Linked DNA regions of Homo sapiens: all the other regions are linked to region 4. Evidence: promoter capture Hi-C in 16 types of primary human blood cells and fetal thymus (Javierre and others, 2016). All regions are on one chromosome and are shown on one strand. The core of a region is centred on a gene start or on the middle of the fragment in contact, and the rest is flanking DNA. Distances in the headings are between cores, read along the strand shown. Region 1 overlaps LOC105379126 (a long non-coding RNA gene). Region 2 overlaps REEP5 (receptor accessory protein 5). Region 3 overlaps YTHDC2 (YTH N6-methyladenosine RNA binding protein C2). Region 4 holds the start of TICAM2 (TIR domain containing adaptor molecule 2). Region 5 overlaps YTHDC2 (YTH N6-methyladenosine RNA binding protein C2). Region 6 overlaps DCP2 (decapping mRNA 2).

Region 1 (3,575 bases), core at 197-2,696, 2.6 Mb after region 4:
AATTATTTTTTTAAAAACTTTGTAGAGACAGGGGTCTCACTAGGTTGCCTATGTTAGTCCTAAACTCCTGGCCTCAAGCAATCCTCCTTCCTCAACTTCCCAAAGCACTGGGATTACAGGCATGAGCCACCGTGCCTGGCCTCATTTAGTCTTTATTACTACATGAAATAGACAAAGATTAATGAGGCTTATAAAGATTAAATGACTCAAAGATTAATGATTAAGCAACAGTATATAATTGAGTCAGGACTAGCATTCAGTTCTAAACTCATAGCAGGAATTCTGCCTTAGGGAGAATGACACAAAAACTATTGTTTATGCCTGTACAGCATATTATACTATAATATTCAAATATAATAATCTCACAACAAAATAAGCTGTCACTGAATCCTAAAAAATATTTAACTTGCTTATTGGCCTTTTAAATTGAGTGAGGTCGCCTGTAATCCCAGCACTTTGGGAGGCCAGGGCGGGTGGATCATGAGGTCGGGAGATCGAGACCATCTTGGCTAACACGGTGAAACCCTGTCTCTACTGAAAATACAAAAACTTAGCCAGGTGTGGTGGCAGACGCCTTTGGTCCCAGGTACTTGGGAGGCTGAGGCAGGAGAATGGCGTGAACCCAGGAGGCGGAGCTTGCAGTGAGCAGAGATCACACCACTGCATTCCAGCCTGGGCGACAGAGCGAGACTCTGACTCAAAAAAAATAAAAATAAAAATAAATAAATAATTAAATAGAGTGAGGTTAAATTAAGTCTGTCAAAGCTTCTTCACATCCCTACAAAGTTCTTATGGTTCAACTCAATGTTTATAGAGTAATACATAATTGCCCCTTCTGTTAGTCCCACACTCTTTCTAGTATAATATCTCCCACAGCATATAATATGTTTTAGTAACATCTACCAAGAAACAAAAATCTCCCTTGATCTCTATGGCAGTCTTACTAGATGCTGACTGTATTAGTCCGTTCTCACACTCCTAATAAAGACATACCCGAGACTGGGTAATTTATAAAGGAAAGAGGTTTAATTGACTCAGTTCCACATGGCTGGGGAGGCCTCACATCATGGCAGAAGGCAAAGGAAGAGCAAAGTCATATTTTACATGGCAGCAGGCAAAACGAGCATGTGCAGGGGAACTCCCCTATATAAAACCATCAGGTCTTGTGAGATTTATTCACTGTCATGAGAACAGCACAGGAAAGACCCACCCCCATTATTCAATTACCTCCCACCAGGTGCCTCCCATGACACATGGGAATTATGGAAGCTACAATTCAAGATGAGATTTGGGTGGGGACACAGCCAAACCATGTCACTCACCAATCCCGTTTCCTCTTCCTGGATTCACAGGCCTCCTTGCATTTAGATGGAAAAACGCAATTGAGTTCTGGCCAGTGGAATGAAGATAAACGTGATATACCCAACTTCAAAGCACAGCTCCTGAAATGCTCTATGTAATTTTCACATAATTTTTATTTCTCCCTTTTCTCTTCCCAGCTGAAAGCAAAGAACTCTTTAGATAGTGGAGTCACACTGGAAAAAGCACAGACCCTTGAGTGTACTGCTTGGAGGAGAGCTACCCTGGAGCATTTGCTCCAGATTCTGCATGAGCAAAAAATAAACTTTTGCTGCATAAAGTATCTTGTTTTTTTGTTGTTGGGTTTTTTTTCTCTTTACACACAAACCCTTTTCCATAATCAGTAAATGCAGGTTGTAGTGGTCATTCTTGTTTGCATGCCCAGCACTCATTTACCCAGGGCCAGCTGCATGTGTGTGTATGTATAAACCGTATAGTTGCACAGAACCCTACACTCAGAAAGGCCCCATGTTTGGTTTAATGCTCTGCTGTTACCATCTTGAAATTCTCAATTTTGTTTTTGAACTTGTGTTTTGTAAGTAAAATTGGAGGGACAATAGAGCATGAGCAGAGCCGAGACGTGCAATATGCATGTCCACTCACTCTTTGCCATGCCATTTGCATATAGCATTTGCATTGTCCTATTTAAATAGAATTTCACTGAACTCACAATGCATGAAAGTTCAGCAAGATTCAGAGTAAGAACAACATAGGCACATAGGAACTGAGTAGGTGGGGTCGCTGTCAGCCCTAGGAGGTCAAGCTTCCTGTGTATCAGAACTTGTTCTAATGCAAGAAGACAATGGCAGTCTAAAAACACAAAGAACCAAGAAACTCTATCATATCCTTTCCTATTGCTTTCCTGATTTAGCCAACCCCTTATGCTGAAAATGATGACATAGAAGGAAAGGGGAAGATCGAGCAACCCATCTTTTCCTTTTCTTTTTAGTTTTTTCCTCATCAATAAGAAGGTAGAGAGTGTGGTAGAATATGTATGTGCATATCAAGAAGTGACGTAAAAACAGTTGACTTTCGTACAGCATTTTGACTGTTCTGGTAACAATGAAATATATCATACATGTACAAAGTATGAAATAAGAATTATGTAATTTCAGTGATTCCACGTACAAGTTAAATGTTCTTATATTTGCATTTAAAACCAAAATTGTGGTTGGGCGCAGTGGCTCACACCTGTAATCCCAGCACTTTGGGAGGCTGAGGTGGGCAGATCATGAGGTCAGGAAATCGAGACCATCCTGGCCAATATGGTGAAACCCTGTCTCTACTAAAAATACAAAAATTAGCTGGGTGTGGTGGTGCATGCCTGTAATCTCAGCTACTCGGGAGGCTGAGGCAGGAGAATCACTTGAATCCGGGAGGAAAGATTGCAGTGAGCTGAGATAGCATCTCTGCACTTCAGCCTGGCGACATAGCGAGACTCCATCTCAAAAAAAAAAATAAAAAAGAAAAAAAAAAAAAAAAGCCAGCATTGCATAATATAAAGATGGTAAAAAGTCTTTGTAATGATTTTAATTTTACTTAGAATGAATTTAATTTTACTTAATTTTAATTTTAATCTTTATTTAGAATGACATTAAATATCAAAAACACCATAAGTGAAGAGAGAAACTGTGAAAGAAAGAAAAAGCCTTTATATTCTAGTATTTTTGTTGTTGTTGTAGTTAAGAGATGAGGTCTCAGTTTGTTGCCCAGGCCAGACTTAAACTCCTGGGCTCAGCAATCCTCCTGCGTAACTGATACTATAAGTGTATGCCACCTCGCCTGGCTTTCTAGCACCTTTAGTGACACTTTTTTCCTGCCTTTTGAATAAGGAGCTCTATATTTTCATGAGAGGAACAGGCTCTGCAAATTATGTATTAATAGCAGGCCCTGAATTCACCCCTTACTCTTTCCTAACAGAACCCTGATTAAGACATGTATCCCTTAGCTTCCCTCACACAGCACATGTGACTCTGGGGAAGCCAGAAACACTTTTGGCTCAAAGGCCAAAATCTGGTTGGTAAATCAAACACCACACTCCATTCCCTGGAAATGTACCCATTCTCTGGACAGGTACATACCTACATAGTCCAGTCAGTGTATACCATAGAACTCTTGCTTAAAACTTCGTGATGAAAAAGTCTCTCTTCTTTCATTGGATGTCATCAGGTCAGGATATGATGTCTGGAACTTCTACAGCCAGTACTCAGTGACTG
Region 2 (3,342 bases), core at 415-2,914, 2.7 Mb after region 4:
TCCCATCACATTTTGAGGTTTTTACGTCATATTCTAGAAAAGACTGTTTAATTCCCAGGTGTGTCCTGAGAGTTGCTTCTTTTGGAAGTACATAGTTGTGAGCTATTGCGTTCACAAAACTAAGACCTTGAGTGAAATGTAATTACGTATCTCCTCTGCCCAGAATGAATGTACAGGAAACAAATTTTTATTATACTAATAATTAAATAAATCCAATTAAATATGGATAAGCCATACTATACCAAATGAAACACAGCGGGAGAAGAAATCTTACACATAAAGGATATACTGTGTTCTTTGGTTAACATGCTTGTCTACACTTTTCCTTTGGCCTTCTATTACATTCGCCAGCTTCTATCTGAAGGAAGCTAAAAAAATACAGACTTTGTGCATACATTACAAGCCATTTTTTAATAATCAGCTCTCTTAAATTCATTTTATATGATTCTTGTACTTTGAAATATTTGGGGCTGGGTGTGGGAGCCACCAGACTGCACTTTGGGAGGCCAAGGCAGGAGGATTGCTTGAGGCCAGGAGTTCGAGACCAGCCTGGGCAACACAGTGAGACCTTGTCTCTACTAAAAATTTAGCAAGTAGCTAGGTGTGGTGGTGTGTACCTGTAGTACCAGCTACTTGGGAGGCTGAAGTGAAGGGAATTACATAAGCCCAGAAGTTTGAGGTTGCAGTGAGCTATTATTGTGCAACTGCACTCCAGCCTGTGCAGAGACCCTGTCTCAAAAAAATAAAAATTTTGCCTAGTCTTGAAGTTCAAAGCAACATTCACCTTATTACTTGTTCCTCTCTCTGTCTTCCTCATTAGTAATCATCTCATTGAGCTACAATTTTTCCCCTTTTGGTTATTTTCTAAAACTCACACACATAGCTGCTTCTAATTAACTGTACAAGGGCTTTCTTAGTGAGTGACTGAGCATGATTTAGCAGCCTGACTGTCTCTTTGGGGAGCTGATGTTATGGAGTAGCCAATGTATTTGCTTTTTGAAAATTTTTTATTTCAATAGGTTTTTGGGTAACAGGTGGCGTTTGGTTACATGGATAAGTTTTTAGTGGCAATTTCTGAGATTTCGGTGCACCCATCAACTGAGCAGGGTACACTGTACCCAATGTGTAGTCTTTTATCCCTCACTACCCCCAGCCCTTTCCCCAAAGTCCCCATAGTCCATTGTATCTTATGCCTTTGCATCCTCATAGCTTAGCTCCCTGTCAATGTATTTTCAGTAGTTAACCTGTTTCATAGGCTAAACAAGATTCAGAGTTCTTTTATTTTACTGTTTCAGTCCAGCTCAGTTACGATAAATATCTAGATCTGTTAGGATAAGAAATTGTGGAGCTTCAGGTTTAGAATAATGAGATTCCTAGGACTGAAGGAAATTTCTGTGATTTAGAAAATTATTTTAAATGTATTTCCATCCATTTGCAGAATGAATTTTGTTTAAGCAATAGTTAGGGTTGGGAAAGTCCTGTTATTAACTGAGGAGAGGAGGAAAGTCCATAGCCTGTGGATCAGTTAAAGACATTCTGAACTAAATAGACACCATGAGGTTTGTTTTCACCCGTTTACTATAAAATATGCTGTGGATTTTGGGCAGTACCTAACCTATGTTCCAAATGTTGCTTTATGGGAAATTCTTATTCACCCATGATATATCTCAATTATTAAAAGTACATAAGAACCTGGTTATCACGAGAGAATTCTTCCTGATATATCCCTCGTGGCAGGACCCAGCTTGGGAGTGGAAATTGCTCTAGCTCCCAGTCACTAGTGGTATATTCTAGGACTTGTGGGGAGGCTTTGGCAGGGTGGAGATCCAGGGCAGTAACAGCTGGTGCTGGTTTCTCTGGTGACCAGGAGACTAGAAACAAGTGGTTATAATGGCTTGTCCCGATATCCACATTGCTTCCAGTCTTTAAGCTGTACTCTTGCATCTAGTGACACAGTGCCTACATGTGCCTAAGTTTCTCAGTGGTATCAGAGGACAGGTTATGAAAGTGTATTTGAAAATCTTTCATTGATATCTTACCAAATGATATACTTTCTTTTGTACTGCCTTTCAGAATTAAAGCTATAGAGAGTCCCAACAAAGAAGATGATACCCAGTGGCTGACCTACTGGGTAGTGTATGGTGTGTTCAGCATTGCTGAATTCTTCTCTGATATCTTCCTGTCATGGTTCCCCTTCTACTACATGCTGAAGGTATGTTGGTCTTGCTACCACTAAAACTCCATCTCAGTACCTGTATAGAAGAAGTAGGAATAAATGCTTGAATGTTGTGCATCTGTGGCTCTGTCTCAGATTATAAACAAGAAGACAGGCCTGGGCAACAGAGCGAGACTCTGTCTCAAAAAAAACAAAAACAAAAAAATGCTCAAGCAAGCCACTTGCCTCAGCCTCCCGAGTAGCTGGGACCATAGGCGCACACCACTGCACCTGGCTACTCTTTTAAACAATTTTATCTAAAGAAATTTAGATATAGGAAATTAAATATAGGAAGCTCCATCACTCCAACCACCATCATAAATGGTAGTATCTTGAGTTTTAGTTCTGGTTAATTATGGATATATAATTCTTTTTGTCTTTGGTCTTAGCCTTTTTTTTTTTTTTTCTTTTTTTGAGATGGAGTCTTGCTCCGTCGCCCAGGCTAGAGTGCAGTGGCATGATCTTGGCTCACTGCAACCTCCACCCCCCAGGTTCAAGCAATTCTCCTGCCTCAGCCTCCTGAGTAGCAGGGATTACAGGCGCCCACCACCATGCTTGGCTAATTTTTGTATTTTTAGTAGAGACAGGGTTGGTTTTTTTAAAAATCTATTTATTTGTACTTCTTCTGGGAGATTTCTCAATCTGACCTCCTTTTTTTTTTTTCTGAGATGGACTCTTGGTCTGTTGCCCAGGCTAGAGTGCCATGGTACAATCTCCGCTCACTGCAACCTCCGCATCCTGGGTTCAAGTGATTGTCCTGCCTCAGCCTCCCGAGTAGCTGGGATTACAGGCATGTGCCACCACGCCTGGTCAATTTTTGTATTTTTTTTGGTAGAGAAAGAGTTTCACCATGTTGGCCAGGGTGCTCTCGAACTCCTGACCTTAAGCAATCCACCCACCTCGGCCTCCCAAAGTGCTGGGATTACAGGCGTGAGCCACCGTGCCCGGACTCAATCTGACCATCTAATTTTCAACTGTACTCCATGATTACATTATAACCATTCTGTTATTCCTGCTATATACCGTGTTCTTCATTTCAACTATTATATTGTTCACACCTAATGTTTTTGCTTGGCTCTCTTCTTCTTGTCCTTGTTTCATATTGCTAATATTTTCTCATTTCTTTT
Region 3 (3,513 bases), core at 405-2,904, 2.0 Mb after region 4:
TGAGGCCAAAGGAAGCTCTTCTGAAGACATAGGCCTTGGCCTTTGGCCAATCCCAGATGGTTGTTGTAAACCTGCAGACTGTTCTTCAGTGCTTAAAACAGCTATAATTGCTCTTATGGTAGCTTCATCAACTTGAGACCAAGGTTTAGATGGAGCTCTCATTCGGCGTAAAAATAAGCTATGCCACTTCTGTCTGAGCTGCAGCAATAAACTAGCTGCCTGTAATAGTTCAAATAGATACAAGCAAATGAATATCACATATGCAAAACACCTATGTGTTGATTAGTTTCCATTAGTTTGCAACTGTTTCCAACAAACTTATTTCACATTTCATATAATTTACTACTAATTTCATTATTTTTAATGCATGAATGAAATAAAATTTATTTATAATATTTTAGGCACTAAGACACAAAATCAAATTAAATAGTCTAATAAGAAAGACAGTAAACAATAGTTGTGGCAGAGTGTGATTAATACTGGAAAAGTAGCAGCAGGGTAAATAAAAATATATGTAGCTCATAGTGTTATTTTAGTGCCTGTAGAACATCCAAATGATCATGTCCTGAAGGCAGCTGGATTCACAGAAAGGTCTAAGACAGAGCTCTAAACTTGAAAGTCACCAGTTCCTAAATGATTGCAAAATATACACATAGAGATAAAGTCCCCAGGGAATGTATAGAGGGAGTAAGAAGATAAGAGTAAGACACAAAGTGCTAGAGAACTTAAAATTTAAGGCACAAACACACACAGCAGGGTCTGTGAAACAACTAAGAAGGACTGACTACAGAGAAAGAATTAAGAAAGATTAATGTTACAGTAACTAGTGACAAAGAATTTGGGGCAGGAGTAAGGAAGAAAACTGGGGAAGGGCAGGAGTACAAAAAGGAGGATATGGACAATAGTGATAAATAATAGAGGTCACATTTATCCCAGACAGCAGACTGACTTTGACAACATGAAGGACACAGTTGACCTTGGCAAGTACAGTTTCAGTGAAGTGATGAATTGGTGGGAATGGAAGTGAGAGTGTAGTAGGTTGAAGTGATGAATGAATGGATGCTAAAATAGTAAACCTAGCCAGTGTTAACTATTGACAGCTTGACGCCTCCCAAAAATGTATAGAGAATGATCTTGGACAGTAGAGATAGAATCAAGGGGAGGCTTTGTCATGAAAATTTGTAATTTGAAAAGAAACATTCATCCTCCCTCAAACCCCCAATTCAGAAGTATATGCAAAGAGAAAATAGTATGGAATCATATCTTTCTCTCAGAAAACACAGTTACACAAAATAAAGGGAGTTCTTGTGTACCCAATACTCAATACTTTCTTATATATCCAGAAATACTCAAGGATTACTGCTACAGTTTGAAGTTTTTGTCCCCTCCAAAACTTCATGTTGAAACTTAACCTCCAATGCAATAGTAATGGGAGGTGTTGGCCTTTGAGGGGTGATTGAGTCATGAGGGCTCTGGCTTCATGAATGGGATTAGGTATCCTTATAAAAGAGCTTGATGGAGGGAGTTCATGCCCTCTTGCCCTACTGCCTTTTGCCATATGAGGACACAGTATTCCTCCACTCTATAGGAGGCAGGGTCCAGCAGCCCTCAACCGACGTCAGCACCTTGATCTCAGACTTAAGATCCTTCAGAACTGTGAGAAATAAATTTCTGTTCTTTATAAATTACTATAGCAGCAACAACAAACTAAGACAATTACCTTGCTTAAATAATGAGCCACAACTAGGTTTTCCAAGTCCTCTGTTGGAATAAACCCCAATACAGAAGAGAATGAATGAGGTCCCCAAGAAAACTGAAAAACAAGTTATATTCTCTGATACTAAGGGCTCAATAGTAAAGAAAAAAATTTTATCATATTATATATCAATTCACACTAACTGAATGAAAGAAATTTATTACACTACTTGAAAGCAACTTACCTCTGGCTCCAGTGTGAAATGGAGCCACTCATCAAGTTTCAAGGCTGCCAAATTAGCTGTAGTTTTGTCCTCCATTTCACTATCACTACTGTCATTGGGAATGCCATCCACTGTCCAAGTACATAATGAAAAAAAAATCACTTTTACCTTCTTACGTTATGGCAAAAAACTAAGAAGAATAAATACGCTTCATATACACAAACCCTCCTGACATACAACAATTTGTGTGGGAAGTCCTTCAAACTCAAAAGATCACATGTTAAATCTCAGTATTTATTTAAAAGGAAAAAAAAGGGACCATTTGAAGACTATAATGTCTCATCACAATGCAACAAAATAAAAAAGACAAGAATATAAAATTTGAAGCACAATCTTTAATAACTGGATGAAAAAGAAACAAATAACATAATTCAAGGAAGGAATGACTATACTACATATCAAAAACTATGAAAGGTGCCCAAAGCAATACTCTTATAAAGTCACAGGTCAGTTTTAAAAAGAAAAAGTATACAGCTAAATATATCTAAGAAAAATAACATAAAACCCAAAGAAAAGTAGAAGAAAATAGAAAATTATAAAAAGATGAATTAGAAAGACAAAATGGTAATTAAAACTATAACCCAGTTCTTTGAAAATATTAATAGATAACCCTCTGTAAATTTAATAAAGGAAGAAGAAAGCAAAAATCTATCTACAAAATTAGGTGAAAATGAGATTATAAAAATACAGAATGCATTATAAAATATGAAATTGATATAGGCTAAAACATACAGTATGTATAAATAATAAATTTGAAATCTTCAAAGAAATTAATTATTTTCTACACGAAAATTACTAAAACTGAAAGTAGAGGAACTAGAAGAACACAAATATATTTAAGGAAGAAATCAGAGATATCCTTAAAGAACATCAACAAAGAAATCCAGAATACCAAGTCTCTCAATTTTGCATGGAATCAAATAATGACCATTCCTGTAATGAGACAAATCTAAACCTAACCCAAAACCTGATTAACACCTAAAACCTACATACCGGAATATGTACAAGCACACACCACACAAACCCTACAGGTCAGCCTCCCCAATGAAGATAAATATAAGTTTTAAATAAAATGTTAGAAAAATATCCAGCAATGTAATAAATCACACTTAGTCCAAGGAAGGTTTATTCTCAGAACAAAATAGCAGTTCCATAAGAAAATCTATATACCACATCAATAGGCTAAATAATTTCTGATTATATGAACAAATGCTCAAATGCTATTTAGTAAATTCAACAAATTTTTAACACATACACAAAAAAACAAAACAAAACAAAACAAAACAAAACCTTCTATGCCAGGTGTGGTGACTCATGCCTATAGTCCCAGCTACTCAGGAGGCTAAGGTGGGAGGATCACTTGAGCCTTGGAGTTCAGGGTTACAGTGAGCTATGACTACTGCACCACTGCACTACATCCGGAATAACAGAGTGAAACCCTGTCTCTTAAAAACAAAAACACACACACACACACAGATACACACACACAAACACTATTCCGTTATTTAAAAGGGACACTTTTATTAAAATTAAC
Region 4 (3,260 bases), core at 148-2,647:
TGAAAAGCTCTGATTTTGAAGGGTTGCCAGAGAAAGAGGAACAGGCAGAGGAAACTGAAAGAAGAATTTTTTTTTTTTTTTTTTTTTTTTGAGACGGAGTCTCACTCTGTGGCCCAGGCTGGAGTGCAGTGGCGCGATCTCGGCTCACTGCAAGCTCCGCCTCCCGGGTTCAAGCCATTCTCCTGCCTCACCCTCCCAAGTAGCTGGGACTACAGGCAGCTGCCACCACTCCCGGCTAATTTTTTGTATTTTTTAGTAGAGACGGGGTTTCACCGTGTTAGCCAGGATGGTCTCGATCTCCTGACCTCGTGATTCACCCGCCTCGGCCTCCCAACAGGCCTGAAAGAATTTTAACAAGCAGGATGAGCATAAAGGCAAAGTGGGGTTGTCAACATCAAGGAAACAGAGTGTTGGGAAACAATGGTCGACTTTGTCAATCGCCAAAGAGACTCCCAGGAAAAATGAGGGCAACAAAAGTATCAGTTGGATTTAGGAGGCCACTGCTTACCCAAAGAGTTCAGGTAGAATTGTTGGGAGGTGCAGTGGTTGGAGAATCAACTCCGTGAATAATGAATTGTGTTGACACGGTACATAATACGGTATTTCTGACTACATTGGCGGCATTTCACTAAGTAATTACTACCTGAAGTGCCTACCTTCAGTAAGGCATCCTGTTGTTGGATGGGGAAAGAGAAGGAGGAAATAACTCTTAGCTTTACCTGTACTGTGCTTCTGAGACCCAGGTATGGACCTTCACTCCCAATTTACTATCCATGGTCTCATCCGATGTTCAGTAACTGGGTTCTCCTTTGGCAGGGAGTAGGGATTGCCTGAGAATTAAAAGGGGAGGGGAGATTTCTGAACTGGACCTCTTAGGTTATGACTAGATTGGGTGCCTGAGGCAGCAATGGGGCTTTATAAGGCTTCTTTACGCTTCATTTAACTAATTGCTTTTTTGTTCTCTCTTATTCAGTGGAGTTCCAATCTGTTCGGTTGTGGAGAACGAACCTGAGAAAAAGGATCTTTCGCAGGGTAGTTTTTGGGGGCAGAGGCTGATGTGCTGCACCCCCTAATCAGGGGTATGGTTGGCTGCAGTAGTCAAGTGAGAGGGCCGCAAAGGGAAAGGAAAAGTCGAGACTATCTTAGGGAACCAGGAGAGTCGCTGTACCTCTGAAAGATCTACGGTTTGTCTGGTCTGTAAGGAGCAAACACGGTGGAATTCCTTTCCAGATTTTTCTGGGCCTCGACCTCTGGCTTTTGGGGTACATGCCAAAAAAAAAAAAAAAAAAAAAAGCGCAGGGAGAGTCCACTAGCCTCGGTGACAGTTCCCCATTGCGGTTTCCCCTCCTCCACCCTTCTTTGCGAGCTCCTTCCCTCTGCAGAGAGTTATCCCGCCACATTAACCCCTGACTCACAGCTGGACCGCCCCGGCCCGCAGCGCCACGTCCCGGGTGGGGCCTGCCACGGCAAAGCAGCAGTCCGGCCTCGAGCGGCCCCTCGGGGGCGGCGGGGTGGGCGCCAACAGCAGTCAGGCCTGACAAGCGGCGACCTCCAAGGGTGAGGCCTCTGCGGGCCCCCGACTCACGCGCGTCCGGGCTCTGCAAGCGCGGTGGGGAGCAGGCTGCTGTGGTCGCGGGGACTGGGTTGCGGCGCGCCGCGTACGGGACGGCCCCAAACTCTCGACGCCCGGGGCAAGACGCCCACCCCCTGGGCGCTCTCGCTGGGCCAGAAAGGAAGACAGAAAAGCCGCGGGCTGACTGTGGTGGCGCTCGCCTGCAGGCAAGTACCGGGCGCTAGGGCGGGGGCCGCCGCCGGGGGCGCGGGGTGGGCTGGGGCCAGGCCGCCAGGGGCGCGGGGTGGTCTGGGGGCCAGGCCGCCTGCGCTACCTCCCCAGCCTACCCGACCCGACGGCGCGGGTGCTGGCGCTGTTGTCCCCAGCGGGGCGGGCAGGCCTTTCCGTCACTTGGCTTACTCTGAAGGGAAAATCCACACAGCTGTCTGCCTTTTTGTTTCATTTTGACTAGAAAACCCATTTTCGAAAAGACACCTCAGAACCATAAGCAAATAGCCCAGAGTCTTAAATGCTCTAAAGGCTCTGCATGAGCCCCTGCCAGGCACACAGAGCCAGTGCTGGAGGTTTTGGCATGGGTTTTCCTACTTGGCTTTTTGTGCAAAGCTAATTTGGATAAAAATAATTTGACTGGCAGCTGTGAGCTAGTTTTCAGTGTATTAGGACCTCTCCAGCTTTCCACGGTAGTAAACTTCTTAAAGAAAGTATTTTAAAATATTCTCATATTTATTATTATTTTTTAATTTATCCTTTTAATTTTGAAAAGCAAGGGTGGGAAAGGCTATATGATCTGGAGGTAAAAATACACCATTATATAGAGTTGAAGTGTCATCCCCTGAACCCACATTGCACGTCTACACAGGAGAAGAACTTGTCCTTCTCCAAGTGTTTAGTATTCCTTAGATTAGTGTTTTTCAAACAAGCCTGATGGTAAGACGCATTTGGGACTTTTGTTTAAAATGCATCCCCCCACCTCTGAAGGTTTAATTTGGTAAGCTTGATTTCCAGAATCTGTATTTCTATTTTTTTATTGTTTAATTTAATTTTATGTTCTGGGATACATGTGCAGGACTTGCAGGTTTGTTACATAGATAAACGTGTGCCATGGTGGTTTGCTGCACCTATCAGCCCATCAATCCTTACATTTTAATATTTTGAAGTAGTAGGATGGTTATAAATGGAGTTAAGCAACTCCACTTTATATCTCATTCAAATCAGAAAATAGATAAGCAGGTATAGAATATTGACACCTACATTTGAAGCAAAGTAAATGTGACATGTACGCCTTACCGTATGGAACTTGAAGTATAAACCATGTTTACACTGTTGAATCATGGGCATCTGTGTTGAGTCATTTGTTCCTTATGCTATTCTTAAAATGTATTCATTTAACAAATATCTGCTGTTAAATCTTCTGTCTTTAATCCCCCCTAGACCACACATCCCATTCTAGGTCCCGCTCCCCTACTTTGCTTCTTTTTATAACAAACAAAAATCCTCTTTGAAAGATTTAATCTAAGTCTCCATTTTCATTTTCCCTGTTTCTTCCTACCCCCTCTCATCTGAGGCTTTTTGTCCCCATTACCCCCTGCATGGTCCTGATGTTGCCAATGACTGTCTTGTGAAATCCAGTGTCTGTGCACAGTTCTCATCTTTCCTGACCCCTCAGTAACATTTGATCACTCCCTCC
Region 5 (3,671 bases), core at 565-3,064, 2.1 Mb after region 4:
AAATAGACAAATCTATAGAAACTGGAAGTAGATTAGTGGTTGGTCTAAAGCTGGAGGAGGCCTAGGAGAGTTGGGGCGGAATAGGGAGAGACACCTAATGGGTACAAGTTTCTTTTTGTGGTGATGAAACTGTTCTAAAATTGATTGTGGTGATGATTGCATAAGTCTGTGAACATATGAAAAACCATTGAATTGGTCACCTAAATGGGTGAATTATATGGTATATTAATTATATCTCAATAAAACTGTTAAAAACCACAAACTTTCAGCTATCATTTATATTTTCTTAATAGGTTGTATCTAATTGTTTACTACTATAAACAATATTCTGATGTATAGTTCACATTTTTAAAAAACTCAGTAGGTACCAACTTAACATGACTGTTAATTAGAAAATTCTATACTAAAAGCAAGTTGATTATGCTATTTTCCAAAAGCAAGAATCAACATAAATTACTGAAATAAATGCCTTGCTTCTTCATCTTATATGTAAAAATGTAAACTACTGCTATCACTAGCAATTATCAACAGAATTTCTAGGAAGTTCAAATAAATCCAATCTCTCTTAAAGAATTTAGCAGAAAAATAACGTAAGACTATTTTCAATGGGAAAAATATTAAACTTCTACAACTTAATAATTGGCTCTTGTAAATGTTTTATTATACTTTAAGTTCTGGGATACATGTGCACAACATGCAGGTTTGTTACATAGGTATACACGTGCCATGGTAGTTTGCTGCACCCATCAACCCTTCATTTACATTAGGTATTTCTCCTAATGCTATCCCTCCCCTATCCCGGAACCCCTCAAGAGGCCCTGGTGTGTGATGTTCCCCTCCCTGTGTCCATGTGTTCTCAGCTCTTATAAATTTTAAGATCTACTTTAAAACACTGTAAGTTTATTGTTTTTTAATTTTTAACACATAAATGAAGAAGACATTATATTCTGTTTAAAGCTATAACTTTTGGATATAAATTATCAATAATCCAGTAAACATAATAATATATTCAATTTTAAATACCTGAAATTTATAATTGATAATATGATCTATCAAATAAAAAGAAAGCCCAGTTAGCCAGGATAATTAAAATATTATCCAGATAAACGCTTTACCTGGTAACCTGCAGTATCTAGTGAGCTTTACTTAACACCATAAGAATGTCTGGAACATTCAAAGTGTTAACAATAAAAGGACTGCAAGTTCTGGGTGCTACTATTGAAATGACAACTAAACCTACCATATCAGAAATAGCATTTAAACCTACCAAGAATTTTGAGACTCAATGTCACAACTAATTTCAAATGTCTGAGACTACATTTCCAATTTTACATCTATAAAATTAAGTACAAAAACCCAGGTCAAATAAAACATTTTATATGCTCTTGAATAACAGATATTTTAATATATTTTAACTTCAGGCTCCATTGTTTTCTTTTTTGAGTCTCTAAAGGTTGAAAACAGAAGCTTTCAATGTATTATAAAACATATATTCAAAATTTTCTTTAAATATCTAATCTGAAAGCTTCATAATTTATTTAAATATCTAATGTAAATTTATCTAAAATTTCTATCTAAAAGACAATTAATTCGATTGGTTTTACAGGATTCCCTTGTGATTTTTCTTTTTTTGCTAAATCAAAGCAATACATATACATAGTGGTGGTAAATGGTTTTATAGAAGTTATAACAAAAACTCCTAGTCACACTGCTTAGGACTATTCTATTGTTTTAGCCATTCCTTTTTAGTATTTGCTGTCATATTTCTAAGCAACATTCATTTTCTGCTATTTATTGTTTTAACAACGTAGTCATTATCTGCGAACCTCCAACTAATGAAAAATGAGGTTACCACTTCCACTTCCCTACACTTTCCACCCACACCAGTTCCTACAATTTTTGTTAAATCTTCATTCAGCCTTTACTTTACTATGACTGGTAAACATTTACTGCTTAGCCTAATAATATACTATGATTATACCTCCTTTCTTGTGTAACTTTTTGTTTTTCCTAGAGTAACAACTGTCTAATTTTTATTTGCTTAGTTTTCTGTGATCTGATAGTAATTCTTCCCAAATTATCTAACAGATTCATAAAGCTTTTTAATATGATTGACAATGCCAGGTAAATTTTTCCCCCACAGAGACCTCCCTCTAGAGCCCCACATCTTCTGTTCCTATGCGATCAGGCCTACTAGACACAGGTGTCATCAAAACAATCCTCTGTACCAGCATCCTGAGCATTCCTTTCACCTATCCCCTGTGCTGTACCTGCCCGGTTTTACCCGTTTTTTTTTTCTCCCCCAATTTTTGTTTTTCTTTTTACTTCTTTTTTGTGAAGCACATTCTCCAACAGTTTCCTAATAAAGGAGTACATAGGAAGCAAATTTTCTTATGTTTTTTCTACAATTTTCCTGCTCTGAAAGCAATTTTCTAAACTTTATCTTGTAACTCTTCTTTTTTTCTGCTATCATATTTTTAATTTACAAGAATTATTTATTTATTCATTCATTCAACAAACACTCACTGCACATCTACTACATCTAGTTGCTGTTCTTGAACAAGCAGACAATAAGCTTACTACATTCTGGTAGGGAGAAGAGATAGACAATAAATCAATAGAACAGTGAACAAGTATATTACATAGTGTATCAGAGGGTGGTAGGGCTTCTGGAGAAAAAAAGAATACGTAGAACAGGTTAAAGAGGATGGACATTGCGTGGGGGGTAGATTGTAATATCAGATACGGCAAATTTGGGTAGGCCTCATGAAGACAAAATCTGAACAAAGATTTGTGTTCTGTTCCTTTTTGATAGCACACTTTTTATTGCATGAATGCAATATCTTTTATTATAGTTTTGTATTCTAAGTTTTCTCTTTGATAACTAACTCTTTTTTTACTGCTTCACTCAAAGGCCACTGAACAAGCCTCTAAGGAGTTTCAAAGCTAAAATGAGTGTTTCTCATTGGCACTGTGAGTTTTCTTAGTTCTGCTAAGTCAATCAATCAGCTATCTATCATCCCAAAATTAACATCTTCTATCAGTTGCCCTGTCCTCTTCCATTCTCTTTGACTTTGGTTTACACCTTTTAAATTTCTTTATATTGCTTCATTGTCATTTTAGTGAGGTTTTGAGAAATGTAAAAGGTTTGAGAAAATGCAGAGATACTTATGTTGTACCTACCATGTTTAATTGGAAATCCCTCTACTGATTTCTTAAAATAAGACAAATATTATACCATGGTAGATCAGACAGAAAATTTCCTTAGAATCACAAAAAAAAATCTCTGGATAAAAGACTATAAATGGTCTACATTTGAATAGCCCATAATTTATATGGTGAAGCTCTTTTTTAAGAGACGGTAGAATTAATTTAAAATAGTACAAAGTTTTACCTGTAAGATTCTAGAAGATCCACAATTTCAGTCTGCCCAAAGTGTTTAGCCCAATCCAATGCCATCCTGCCAAAATTCAAAGGATATATAAGATGTCATCAAAATTGTAAAACTAGTTCATGATGAGCCTGGGCAACATCAAGACCCTGTCTTTTCAAAAAAATTTTTAAATAAAAAATAAGATAAATTATAGTTAAAAAACAAGTCATTCAAAATTATTAACCCATTAAAACAGAAATTCACCAGCAATTATTACACAATAGTTTTTAATATAAAG
Region 6 (3,652 bases), core at 239-2,738, 2.6 Mb after region 4:
CTAGTAAGTGGCAGAGAAAGGATGCTAACTCAAAGGATGTGGCTCGAGAACGTATGCTCTTATCAAAGTATGCAGTCTTCTCTACTGCAATATCCCACATGTACCATCAACTCAACTGGCCCATAACAGAACCCATCAATTCCCTACATTTCTCATTTTCTTGCCAATGAGATGGCCAAGTAAACGATTTACATGTACAAATATATGTGCTTCTCAAACTTACCCTTTGAATTAGGCACTATTAGTAACCTTATTTTTCAGGAAGAAACTGGGATCCTCAACTGCTCATACTAGAAACCTGGGTACCATCCTTTCTTCTACTTCTCCTCAGATATCCAAATCATCACCAATCTTACCTCCTAAATAGCTCTCAAATTTGATCTCTTCTATTCATTTCTACTACCACAGGTTTTCTCTCTCTAGTAAATTAATAAAATAGCATGTTAACTGGATTCTCAGAATCCAATCTTGCCTTCCCCCAGTTCACTGTTCACACTATTTCACAGCAGTCTTGAAAAATACCCCTATACGGAGAAATAAGCAAATGTAGGAAAACGTTAATAATGAATGAATACAGATGAAGGGTATGATGGCAGTTGTCATGTTCTTTGGCCATCTCCGAAAGTTTTTTCCCAAAATAAGTTTTTTTAATCTGTTTTTTAAAGAAATATGGCCTACAAGACCCCTACATGTTTTAGCCTCTGAATTACTCTGTAGCATCATCTCTTATCTTTCCCATTTAGTCTAAAATACAGTAACTTTTTTCATTTCCTCCGATTTTCCTCACATAAATCACTATCTCAGAGAAGGCTTCTATTTAGCTCCCAAATCTTTTTTTTTTTTTGGAGTAATAGTTAACATTTATTACATTAACATTTATTGATCACTGTGCCAAGTAAACGACTTACATGTACAAATATATGTGTTTCTTAAACTTACCCTTTGAATTAGGCACTATTAATAACTTTGTCAGGAAGAAACTGGGATCCTCATCTAAGATGATTTAAATAACCTACCCAAGATTTTCGAGTGGCCAAGATGGGAATCAAACTCACAGCCTCCAAATCGTAAGTGGGTATCCCTCTTCTGTTCCCACTGAACACTGTGCTTCTGTATCACATCCTACCACACTGCACTGTAATCATTTCCTTTCCTGTCTTTTCTCATCTTCTTGAAGATACTGAGTCTACTCTCTTCACTGCATAAGGCCTGGCACAGAGTAACCATGAAGTTACTTAATGAAGTGTACCACATTAAACATTCCTTCTCCATGTAGCTATTCTTAGTTAACTAAATGAAACATACCTAAAACAAAGGTTGTTGGTGTTTTGTAATAGCAGGCAAAGTGTAAAACTCATGTGCAAACACACACAAAATGTTATCCAAAACCCTAAAGTATGTAAAGTTGCCCTAGAAGGGCTGTAAGTCCATACAAAATGACCAAAGCAAAAGAGGACTTGGTTATCTTAGTTACGTTTCCTTAACTAGATTGTAACTCCTGAAAACCAGGCTACTAAGATTTCTCCAGAGAACCTATCACCAAGGCCTTTAACAAAGATAGTGCTCAATATATTTCTATTTCCCTCTGATTTCTCATTAACTTCTACACATTTAATCAAACGGTTTGATCATTTCTTCCTTTGAAATCTGTCTCCCATCAGTGTTTTCTTTGTAGTCCCACTACTATGGCTCAGGGATTTATTGCCCTGAACGTCAAGTGATGTAACAGACCAACCAATAAATCTTGGATACCATTTTTTTTTTTTTTTTTTTTTTTTATTAAGACACAGTCTCGCTGTGTCACCCAGGCTGGAGTGCAGTGGCGCGAACTCGGCTCACTGCAAGCTCTGCCTCCCGGGTTCACACCATTCTCCTGCCTCAGCCTCCGGAGTAGCTGGGACTACAAGCGCCCGCCACCACGCCCAGCTAATTTTTTGTATTTTTTTTTTTTTTTAGTAGAGACGGGGTTTTACTGTGTTGGCCAGGATGGTCTCGATCTCCTGACTTAGTGATCCGCCCCCCTTGGCCTCCCAAAGTGCTGGGATTACAGGCATGAGCCACCGCACCCGGCCTTGGATACCGTTTTCAAATGATCAGAGTAATATTCTTTACCGTTGCTCAAAAATGTGCTATGGTTAACAGTTAACTGTTACAGAACAATCACTGTTTCATCCATTTTCTACAGAGCCCGAAGGATTCCATACTTCATGAGGCTAAAGGAAAGTGATAGGTAGCTGAGAATGAGGGTATTTCAGCTCACCTATCCCTACTCCAACTCTAGTTCTAGTACACGAACTTGTGGGTACAAATCCATTAAACATACACGTCATGGTCAAAAACAATAACCTGGCCAGGTGCGGTAGCACCTATAATCCCAGCTACTTGGGAAAAATGCGGGAAGACTGCTTAAGCCCAGAAATTCAAGCCAGACTGGGCAACAAGGCAAGACCTTATCTCAAAAAAGGAGAGAAAAAAAAAAGACCTATGGAATAAAAATCAGTTTGGGCACAGTTGCTCATACCTGTAATCCCAGCACTTTGGTAGGCCAAGGCAGGTGGATCACTTGACGGCAGGAGTTTGAGACCAGCCTGGCCAGCATGGCAAAACCCCATCTCTACTAAAAATACAAAAAAAAAAAAAAAAAAAAAAAAAGGCACCTAGGTGTGGTGGCTTGCACCTGTAGTCCCAGCTACTCAGGAGGCTGAGGCATGAAAATCACTTGAACCCTGCAGGTGGAGGCTGCAGTGAGCCAAGATCACACCACCACACTCCAGCCTGGTCAACAAAGTGAGGCTGTCTCGGTTTGTCGGGCGGGCGGGGGGAATAAAAATCAAAGTGCTTTAGCTCAAGATTTAAGAACCCATACGATGCCATCATCACCTCATATGACTTTCCAACCATATCTGCTATTATGGCCCCATGAGAGGACGCTGTTCAATTCAAACTAATTTATTTATTGAGCTATCCTTTTTCAAATCTCCAATTTTTCTTTACCTAAAACACATTCCCCACTTCTACTGAGAAAATCCTATATTCCCTCAAAAATATAGCTTTCCCTAAAATATTTCCACTTTTTTTTCCAAATTCTAGAAACATGTACTATCAGGACCATTAGCAATTACTCAATTATTTGCCTTATGACATAGCTTCTTTTATAATGTTAAATATTCATGTGAATCTTTTATAACTAATAAATCACGACAAGTTTCTGCCTGATATGTACATGGGGAAAGAAGCTTCTCTGAAGGCAAAGATGACTTTTTTCTCTTTGAGACGGAATCTCACTCTGCCGTCCAGGCTGGAGTGCAGTGGTGCCATCTCAGCTCACTGTAACCTGCACCTCCCAGGCTCAAGAGACCCTCCTGCCTCAGCCTCCCGAGCAGATGGGACCATAGGTGAGTGCCACCATGCCCAGGTAACTGTTTTTGTACTTTTGGTAGAGATGAGGTTTCGCCATGATGCCCAGGCCGGTCTCAAACTCCTGAGTTCTGGCAATCCACCAGTCTCGGCCTCTCAAAAGTACTGGGATTATAGGTGTGAGCCACTGCACCCACCAAGGGCTTCTTTGTATTTGCCACACAACTGAAAACACTGCTTCAAACATAGTAAACATTCAATAATTATTTAATAAATGTCACTGGGCACAGCGGCT

What was found. Contacts are between HindIII fragments. The CHiCAGO score rates a contact against its expected background, and 5 or more counts as called.
Region 1: a fragment that was not itself captured here is called in contact with the fragment with the promoter of TICAM2 in region 4 in 6 of 17 cell types (activated CD4 T cells, M0 macrophages, total CD4 T cells and 3 more); the score reaches 10.1 in activated CD4 T cells.
Region 2: a contact is called between a fragment that was not itself captured here and the fragment with the promoter of TICAM2 in region 4, in 1 of 17 cell types (M2 macrophages). The highest score is 5.9, in M2 macrophages.
Region 3: a contact is called between a fragment that was not itself captured here and the fragment with the promoter of TICAM2 in region 4, in 2 of 17 cell types (total CD8 T cells and total CD4 T cells). The highest score is 9.7, in total CD8 T cells.
Region 5: a contact is called between a fragment that was not itself captured here and the fragment with the promoter of TICAM2 in region 4, in 1 of 17 cell types (activated CD4 T cells). The highest score is 7.7, in activated CD4 T cells.
Region 6: a fragment that was not itself captured here is called in contact with the fragment with the promoter of TICAM2 in region 4 in 6 of 17 cell types (total CD4 T cells, activated CD4 T cells, naive B cells and 3 more); the score reaches 11.5 in total CD4 T cells.

What each region holds. Positions count from the first base shown.
Region 1 is chr5:112,969,878-112,973,452 of GRCh38, reverse strand. LOC105379126 (a long non-coding RNA gene) reads left to right here. Exons shown (of 2, transcript XR_948679.3): 2 at 1,500-1,642. Among named protein-coding and RNA genes, the nearest start is that of DCP2, 5.1 kb to the left of the region's middle. The HindIII fragment of the contact is 1,357 bases long and covers 768-2,124 here.
Region 2 is chr5:112,901,250-112,904,591 of GRCh38, reverse strand. REEP5 (receptor accessory protein 5) reads left to right here. Exons shown (of 5, transcript NM_005669.5): 3 at 2,074-2,212. Among named protein-coding and RNA genes, the nearest start is that of REEP5, 19 kb to the left of the region's middle. The HindIII fragment of the contact is 4,622 bases long and covers 1-3,342 here.
Region 3 is chr5:113,578,123-113,581,635 of GRCh38, reverse strand. It overlaps YTHDC2 (YTH N6-methyladenosine RNA binding protein C2), which reads right to left. Exons shown (of 30, transcript NM_022828.5): 24 at 1,941-2,050; 25 at 1-219. Among named protein-coding and RNA genes, the nearest start is that of YTHDC2, 66 kb to the right of the region's middle. The HindIII fragment of the contact is 5,766 bases long and covers 1-3,513 here.
Region 4 is chr5:115,600,616-115,603,875 of GRCh38, reverse strand. TICAM2 (TIR domain containing adaptor molecule 2) reads left to right here and starts at 1,397. Exons shown (of 2, transcript NM_021649.7): 1 at 1,397-1,779. All of the region lies in intron 3 of TMED7-TICAM2 (TMED7-TICAM2 readthrough), which reads left to right. TICAM2-AS1 (TICAM2 antisense RNA 1) reads right to left here and starts at 1,721. Exons shown (of 3, transcript NR_109875.1): 1 at 1,416-1,721; 2 at 720-830. RefSeq lists a silencer at 1,406-1,905 and enhancers at 1,525-2,047, 1,996-2,075. The HindIII fragment of the contact is 4,479 bases long and covers 1-2,568 here.
Region 5 is chr5:113,548,744-113,552,414 of GRCh38, reverse strand. It overlaps YTHDC2 (YTH N6-methyladenosine RNA binding protein C2), which reads right to left. Exons shown (of 30, transcript NM_022828.5): 12 at 3,395-3,460. Among named protein-coding and RNA genes, the nearest start is that of YTHDC2, 37 kb to the right of the region's middle. The HindIII fragment of the contact is 573 bases long and covers 1,528-2,100 here.
Region 6 is chr5:112,986,621-112,990,272 of GRCh38, reverse strand. The region is part of intron 2 of DCP2 (decapping mRNA 2); the gene reads right to left. Among named protein-coding and RNA genes, the nearest start is that of DCP2, 12 kb to the right of the region's middle. The HindIII fragment of the contact is 3,500 bases long and covers 1-3,238 here.